Regions from separate parts of the Homo sapiens genome. Here all the other regions are linked to region 3. The links are contacts of gene promoters, found by promoter capture Hi-C in human tissues and cell types (Jung and others, 2019). All regions are on one chromosome and are shown on one strand. Each heading gives the region's core, a stretch centred on a gene start or on the middle of the fragment in contact. The rest is flanking DNA. Distances are from core to core; before and after follow the strand shown.

What was found. Contacts are between HindIII fragments. The study calls those that stand out against the background at their distance.
Region 1: a contact is called between a fragment that was not itself captured here and the fragment with the promoter of COL6A1 in region 3, in 3 of the 25 tissues and cell types used here (lymphoblastoid cells, mesenchymal stem cells and mesendoderm cells).
Region 2: a contact is called between a fragment that was not itself captured here and the fragment with the promoter of COL6A1 in region 3, in 5 of the 25 tissues and cell types used here (H1 embryonic stem cells, heart left ventricle, mesenchymal stem cells and 2 more).

The regions. Positions count from the first base shown.
Region 1 is chr21:45,881,595-45,884,294 of GRCh38, forward strand. The region is part of intron 5 of PCBP3 (poly(rC) binding protein 3); the gene reads left to right. Among named protein-coding and RNA genes, the nearest start is that of PCBP3-AS1, 47 kb to the left of the region's middle. The HindIII fragment of the contact is 4,995 bases long and covers 1-2,700 here.
Region 2 is chr21:46,069,562-46,072,261 of GRCh38, forward strand. It overlaps the pseudogene PSMA6P3. Among named protein-coding and RNA genes, the nearest start is that of COL6A2-DT, 27 kb to the right of the region's middle. The HindIII fragment of the contact is 8,195 bases long and covers 1-2,700 here.
Region 3 is chr21:45,980,494-45,983,193 of GRCh38, forward strand. COL6A1 (collagen type VI alpha 1 chain) reads left to right here and starts at 1,277. Exons shown (of 35, transcript NM_001848.3): 1 at 1,277-1,454; 2 at 2,141-2,270. The coding sequence starts at 1,358. It overlaps LOC105372841 (a long non-coding RNA gene), which reads left to right. Exons shown (of 3, transcript XR_937803.3): 3 at 797-1,073. RefSeq lists enhancers at 1,035-1,897, 1,898-2,700. The HindIII fragment of the contact is 42,283 bases long and covers 1-2,700 here.

The DNA of each region.
Region 1 (2,700 bases), core at 69-2,568, 99 kb before region 3:
ACTCTCAGCAATTTTCAAGTATACATTGTTCTTACCCATAGTCACTGTGCCACACAGCAGCTCCCCAGCCTGTTTGACTCCCGTCTAACTGAACTTGTGCCAGTGACCAACAGCTCCCATTTCCCCCAACCCCCCGCAGTCCCCGACAGCCACCTCCCACCCTCTGCTTCTGTGAGATGCACTTTTTTAGATTCCACATGTGAGATCATGCAGTATTTGTCTTTCTGTGCCCAGTTCATTTTACTTGTTATAATGTCCTCCAGGTTCATCCGCAGTGACACAGATGACATGGCTTCTTTCTGTGTGTATGTCTGTGTGTGACATTTTCTTTATCCGTTCGTCTCTCTATGAACACTTAGGCTGATTCCACCATATCTAGGCTGTTGTGAGTTGTGCCACAATCAACACGGGCCTGCATGTGTCTCCTCACTATAGTGACTTTGGGTATATGCCCTGAAGTGAGACTGCTGGATCCTGTGGTGGTTCTATTTCTAGTTTTTTGAGGAACTTCCGTACCGTTCTCCATAATGACTGTACTAAGTTTCCCATCAGCACTGTACAAGGGTTCCCTTTTGTCCACCTCCTCACCAACACTTAGCTTTTGTCTTTTTGATAATAGCCATTCTAACAGGTATGAGCCGATATCCCATTGTGGTTTGAATTTGCATTTTTCTGGTGATTAGTGATGTTGTGCACTTTTTCATATACCTGTTAGCCATTTGTATGTCTCCTTCTGAGAAGCTTCCATTCCGTTTCTTTGCCATTTTTTTAAAATCTGGTATTTGTTTTCTTGCTATTGAGTTGTTTGAGTTCCTTACACATTTTGAGTATTAACTCCTTATCAGATGTTGTATGGTTTGCAGTTTTTTTTCCAGTTCCCTAGGTTGTCTCTTCACTCTGTTGTTTGCTGTGCAGAAGCTTTTCAGTTTGATATAATCCCATTTCTCTACTTTCTGCTTTTGTTGCCTGTACTTTGAGGGCCATATTTAAAAAAAAATCATTAACTAAACCAGTGTCGTGGAATTTTTCCCTGTGTTTTTTCTTAGTGGTTTTGCAGTTGCAGATCTTACATTTAAGTCTTTAACCCATTTTGAGTTGATTTTTATAGATGGTGTGAGATGAGGGTCTAATTTCATTCTTCTGCACAGGGACATCCAGTTTCCCCAACACCGTTTATTGAAGAAACTGTCCTTCCCCGTGTGTGTTCCTGGTGTCTTTATTGTAGATGGATTGGCTGCAGCTGCGGGGTTTCCTGCCAGGCTCTCCGCTCTCCTCCACCGGCCTGCATGTCGTTCTTACACCAGCGCCAAGTTCTGGTCTTTAGTATTTCATTCCTCTGCTTACTTGGATTTATTTTGTTCTTCTTTTATTAGATTCTTAAAATGAGTGCTTAGATTATTGATTGGAAGCTTTTCTCTCTTCAAATGTGTGTGTTTCGTGCCACAGGTTTCCCTCTCAGCACTGCTGTAGTTGTGTCCTGCGATTTTTGATATGCTGTGTTTTTATTTTCATTCAGGTCAATGTGTTTTTTGATGTTCCTTGAGATTCCCTCTTTGACCCTTGGATTGTTCATATATGTGTTTCATTTCCAAGTGCTTGGAACTTTTCTTGTTATCTTTCCATGATTGATTCTGGTTTGAGTCAGCTGTGGTCAGAGAACATACACTACGGTTTCAATTCTGTTAAATTTGCTGAGGTTTCTTTTATGGCCAAGGGTATGGTCTATCCTGGTATAGATTCTGTACATGCAGGAAGAGAGTGTGGATTCTGCTGATGCTGGACAGAGTGTTCCGGAAGTGTTCGTTAGGCCCCGTTGGTTGATGGTGTTGAGTCCTTCCAAATCCTTTGCTAATTCTCTGCCCAGTGGTTCTTTCAGTTGTTGACAGTAATAAAGTCTTCAGCTGTCGTTGTGGATTTTTATATTTTTCTTTTCACTACTATTAGTTTCTGCTTCACATATTTTACAGCTCTGTTATTTGATTCATACACATTTAGGATTGCTATTGCTTATTTAGACTCTTTTATCATTATGTAATGTCCTTCTCTGTCTCTGATCATTTTCATTGCTCTGACGTCTATTTTTTCCGATATTAATATAGCCATTCCTGCTTTCTTTTGATTAATGGTTGCACGATACGCCTTTTCCCATTAGTTTATCTTCAGTTTGCTTATATTGTTCTATTTGAAGTGAGTTTTCTGTAGACAGCATATGATGGGGTCATATTTTTAAATCCACTCTGCCCATCTGTGCTTCAATTGGTGTATTTGGACCATTTATACTTAAAGTTATTACGGTATTGAGATGTTAGGGCTTAAATCTGCCATTTCACCTTTTATTTATCTTTTGTATTTATTTATTTTGAGATAGGGCCCTACTCTGTCATCCAGGCTGGAGTGCAGTAGTGTGATCATGGCTCACTGCAGCCTCTTCTGGGCTGAAGTGATCCCCCCACCCCAGCCTCTCAAGCAGCTGGGACCACAGGCATGCACCACCATGCCCAGCCAATTTATTTTTATATTTTGTAGAGACTAGGTATTCCTGTGTTGCCCAGGCTGGCCTTGAACTCCTGGGCTCAAGTGATCCTCCCACCTTGACCGCCCAAAGTGCTGGGATTACAGGCGTGAGCCATCGCACCCAGCCTCATTTTTAATTTTGTTGGCTTTGTTTTTTGTTTCTCTGGTTTTAGTTTTTTCTTTCTT
Region 2 (2,700 bases), core at 26-2,525, 89 kb after region 3:
GGGTGTGTGTGCATTGTGGGGGTGGGGGGAGTGCTGAACGTGCCTTCGCAGTGACAACTCCAACTCTAAGTCGGTACCACAGGGCTCATTCTCGCCTTCCTTCCCTGTGTGTCTAACGCTTCCTCTCCAGTCAGGAGAAACCTGCTTCATGCCACCCACCGTCTCCTTACTGATCTGTTCGACCCTGGAATTCACGTGAAGCATTTTCAGAATTGTACCTCGTGAGAAACAAATGAATCCAGAAAGTCAACCAGAGGGTGATGCAGCACATGGTGGCTCGGAGCACACAGCCTCTCCGAGGCCATCACAGACGCACTGGTGTGGGGGGCTCCCCTCAGACCCTCAGCGATGGCACTTTCTGTAGGCCGCAGAGGTAGGGGCCGCAGAGCCAAGCTTGCTAGCATCCATGGGACGCTGAGGCCCCAAATAATAGAGACCAGATGGCAGCGCTTACCCCCAGGGCCGAGCTGAGGGGGCGGCCAGAGGCGCTTGGCCTGCAGGGAGCCGTGGAGGCTGGCGGAGCACGGCACCCTGGGAAAGGTGGCAGGGGCAAGAGGGTCACACAGGTCATAGGCCAGCCCAGCGGGCAGGGCCCTGCACGTCCTTCTCACTGGCACCTCTGCAGGACCCGAGAGGGGGCATGGCCCAGAAAAGGTGTTCAATAATTGTTGTCTGAGTGTGTAATAAAGGAACAAATGAATGATTGGAAAATTCACAGACTGCTTCCCCGACTACATGGAGGGAAAAGGGTAACCATTTGGTACATGGTAAAGTTCAAGCATCAGAAATGCCGGATTAAATTGAATAAATGTGCCAACGATTAATTCAGTGGCTTCAAGAATTAATGCCCAAAAGGCCAGGCACGGTGGTTCATGCCTATAATTCCAGCACTTTGGGAGGCTGAGGCTGGTGGATCACTTGAGGTGAGGAGTTCAAGACCAGCCTGGCCAACATGGTGAAACCCCATGTTTAACTTACTACTTAAAAAATACAAAAATTAGCCGGGTGTGATGATGCACACTTGCAATCCCAGCTTCTTGGGAGGCTGAGGCACGAGAATCACTTGAACCCAGCAGGCAGAGGTTGCAGTGCGCCGAGATCGCGCCACTGCACTCCAGCCTGGGCAACAGAGTGAAACTCAGTCTCAAAAAAAAAAAAAGAAAAGAAAAAGAAAAAAAGAAATTAGTGCCTGAAGGAGTTAGCAAGGACCCCTCCAAAGCCCGCCTTTCTCTTGGCCACTCATGTGCGCTCTCAGCATGTCCAGAAGCTCCTGCATTTCTTCGTCTGCAACAGAAGGCTGGCTTGCTGATCGACTGATTGACAACTTCTTTAAAAGCAGAGCCTCCAGTCATCTTTCAGATGGCTCATTGTGGGCCGTGTCTTTTTAGGTTGGCGGCACCCTTCTTTTTTAAAAGTACACCTGTTGGTGGAAAGTTAACACTCTTTGAGGACTGGATGAGCTTGTATTTCGCTAAGGCGCTGTGGATTTGGAAGCAAGAAGGTGCCAGGGCTGTGCAGGTGAACCTGCTCTGCGATTCCATGAAAGAGCAACTGCCCCAAATACCTTCCCTGCCACAGGCCTGAACGCCTTCATCCTCAGTGTGAACCCCTCTCGGGACCGAAGGCACTGATAACATGGGCATCTGCTCCCTGGGTGGGCTTGCACGCCTCTGCAGGGTCTCTCGTTAACGAGAGACCCTGAGAACCTGGCACCTGGGAGGAAGGCATGGATTTCCGTGGGTGTGGCTCACGCTAGGTGGTGGTGAAGCCCTGCAGAGTCAAGAGAGGACAAGAGGACAAGTGCGTGGAGGAACCCACAGAGGAGGGGCAGGAGCCAAACTCTCCATGAGCCCCTGGACCCCCGAGCAGCTGAGATCACAGCGCTCCAGCCAACAAAAGGCAAGCAGTGACGTGAAGAGAGCCCTGGAGTCAGAGTGAGAAGTCCTGGGCTCTGGCCACAGCTCTGCCCACTTGTGAACATGATTTTTGTAAGTTCATGAATAGAAGGAGAGGAATTTTCTTAGTCTGCTTGTGTTGCTATAACAAAATACCTGAGACTGGGTAATTTATCAATAACAAAACTTTATTTTCTCACAGCTCTGGAGGCTGGGAAGTCCAACATCAAGGCCCCTGCAAGTTCAGTGAATGGGCAAAGGCCCATTTCTCATGGAAGGTGCTGCCTGGGGGTCCTCACACGGTGGGAAGAATGAAAAGGGGAAAAGGGACAAGTGCCACGTCCTCAGATGGCAGCAGAAAAGCAAAAGGCACACGCAGGCTCCCCCCGCCCTTTTATAAGGCGCTAACCTGCTCATGGTGGTGGAGAAGGCCTCACCTCTTCATACGCCAAAATGAAGATTAACTTTCTTTTTTTCCCCAAAAAGCATAGTTCTTACTGATACACAGTCCTAACCACTTGAGTGGTGGGTGAAGTGGGAGAGGATCTCTTTTGAATCATAATGCGGCTTCACTGTTACCAAATACGCAGGCTGGTGGCATCACAGATGTATAAACCAGTGACAATGTTTAGTTTCTGCTAGAATGACAAGGTGAGCGTCAGCCTCTGCTTCTGTAAGTATCCTGAATTTAGGATTTGCAGCTGTAATCTCTCCAACTTTTCTTTCTGATGATTTGAAACCAATGGATAGCACGGTAGACAGGCAGGTAATTGCAGTTACCACTGTCTGTTCAGGCCGGGCACAG
Region 3 (2,700 bases), core at 27-2,526:
AGGTGATATCAGGGACAGCCCCTCTCTCCTCTCTCTGTCTCTCTTTCTGTCTCTCTGTCTCTGTCTCTCTGTCTCTGTCTCTCCGTCTCTGTCTGTCTCTCCTCTCTGTCTCTCTCTGTCTCTGTCTCTCTGTCTCTGTCTTTGTCTCTCTCTGTCTCTCCTCTCTCTGTGTCTCTGTCTCTGTCTCTCTCTCTGTCTCTCTCTGTCTGTCTCTCTGTCTCTCTCTGTCTCTGTCTCTCTCTGTCTGTCTCTGTCTCTCCTCTGTCTCTCTGTGTCTGTCTCTCTGTCTCTGTCTTTCTGTCTCTCTCTCACTGTCTCTGTCTCTCTCTGTCTCTCTGTCTCTGTGTCTCTCTGTCTCTGTCTCTCACTGTCTCTCTCTCTGTCTCTGTCTCTCTGTCTCTCTGTCTCTCTGTGTCTCTCTGTCTCTGTCTCTCTGTCTCTGTCTCTCCTCTGTCTCTCTGTGTCTCTCTCTGTCTTTCTGTCTCTCTGTCTCTCTCTGTCTCTGTCTCTCTCTCTGTCTCTGTCTCTCCTCTGTCTGTGTCTCTGTCTGTCTCTCTGTCTCTGTCTCTCTGTCTCTCTCTCACTGTCTCTCTCTGTCTCTCTGTCTCTGTCTCTCTGTCTCCACACACAGCATATATAACAACTATATTGTGAGCAACTTTGTCTTCCCACGGTACAAACTGAAATATCTTTGGCAAATACGTATCCGACTATACTGTGAAGAAATATTGACGTGAAAAAAGAACGCGGAGATCTGATAAAGCAACAATTCAGCTCACGGCGAGGTCCTCTGCAGGAGGCGGTTGGTGGGAAGAGGCGAGTGAGCCTGCCCGTGCGTCCCGCATGGAGACGTCTGGATTGGAAACTACCGAAAGATGTTTCAAGGAACTCTCCCTGGGTGACACGCTGGTTTTCAGACGTTTGATTCAGCTGCTGCAGTTTCCTCCTCCCTGACACGGGAACTGAACTGCAGGCCGCGGCGAGCCAGCCAGGGAAACCGCCTTCTCCCTGGGCTCGGAGCTGCTGCCGGTTCTGGAGGGAGAGACCCCAGCAAGGAGGTGGTGACTCATGGGCCGCTCCTCCCCGCCCCGCCCCGCCCCTCCCCTCCCGCCCCGCCCCTCCCCTCCCGCCCCTCCCCTCTCCTCCCGCCCCTCCCCTCCCCTCCCCTCTCCTCCCGCCCCGCCCCTCCCCTCCCCTCCCGCCCCTCCCCTCCCCTCCCGCCCCTCTCGCCCCGCCCCTCCCCTCCTTGCCCTCCGCTCTCACTCTGGCTGGGAGCAGAAGGCAGCCTCGGTCTCTGGGCGGCGGCGGCGGCCCACTCTGCCCTGGCCGCGCTGTGTGGTGACCGCAGGCCCCAGACATGAGGGCGGCCCGTGCTCTGCTGCCCCTGCTGCTGCAGGCCTGCTGGACAGCCGCGCAGGATGAGCCGGAGACCCCGAGGGCCGTGGCCTTCCAGGGTGAGTGGTGGCTTGGGGTGCAGGCTCCAGACCCCCCGCTCTTTGCTGCCGGCCAGGGCCAGATGCGCGGGGTCCCCTCCCACGCGTGGAACTGCAGACTGGGGGCCTGGAGCCCCTGAACCCCACTCCCCGCTCGGGGCGGCTGCAGCGCCCAGCTCTGCCCCACCGGGCCTTGGCCGGGGCCCCTAGAGGCTCAGCATTCAGCATTCTCAGCGGGGCCGGACCGCAGGCAGCTCGGGAGGGGCTCCCTGGCGAGGGGGAGCTGGTGCGGGGCTGTCTCGGCGCCCCGTGAATCCGTTTGACCCCTCACCTGGCAGTGAGTCCAGACGCACGGCCCCCCCGACCCCCGTTCTAGAAGAAGTCGTGCGCTGCTGGTTCTGAATCCAGCGAGAAACCTTCCCGTGAGGTCTCACTTGTCCGGTCCCGTGCCGGGGACGCCCTGCCCTTCGGGGGAGGTTGTGAAGGTTTCTGACTCCCCTCGAGGCACAGGAGCGGTTTGGGGTCTCTCACTCCACCCCCTCCCCACCGTCCCCACCGAGGGACGTCCTGCTGCCTTTTCCCGGGAGAGCCTCTCCGGGCCCGGGGCTCTGTGCTGCAGGCGCTGGGCTGGCCGGGAGGGCAGGCCCAGCAGAGACTCGGGGAATGGGGCGAGAGCTTGAAGGCCCCTCTCCTCCATCTTCGGCCAGACTGCCCCGTGGACCTGTTCTTTGTGCTGGACACCTCTGAGAGCGTGGCCCTGAGGCTGAAGCCCTACGGGGCCCTCGTGGACAAAGTCAAGTCCTTCACCAAGCGCTTCATCGACAACCTGAGGGACAGGTAGGAGGGACGCCCCGTGACCTTCCTCCTGTGCTTCTGGGCCTCTTGGAGGGAGGGGTGGGGGCCCAGGGGAACACGGGTGCGACGGCCTCAACCTCCTAAGGTTGGGCGAGCGTTGCCCTGACCGGGGCCCCTCCCGGCGCCCTCCAGAGTGAGGCCGGGGCCCTTTCCGGCGCCCTCCAGAGTGAGCTGGTCTGAGCCTCTCCCAGCGCCTTCCAGAGTGAGCTGGTTTGAGACCCTGCTCGCGGGGGTGGCACCTGTTCAGCAGGGCCGAGGTGACAGTGAGGCTGAGATGTAGGGAAGAGAGGCTCCCGCAGGCTGACCGAGAGGGCTCAGCGCACTGGCCCAGACACGCAGTCCTGCCTGGTGCGCGGGAGCCCCTCACTAACCACCTGGACCCTGGTTTGTTCCGTGGGCAGTGAGAGCCTCT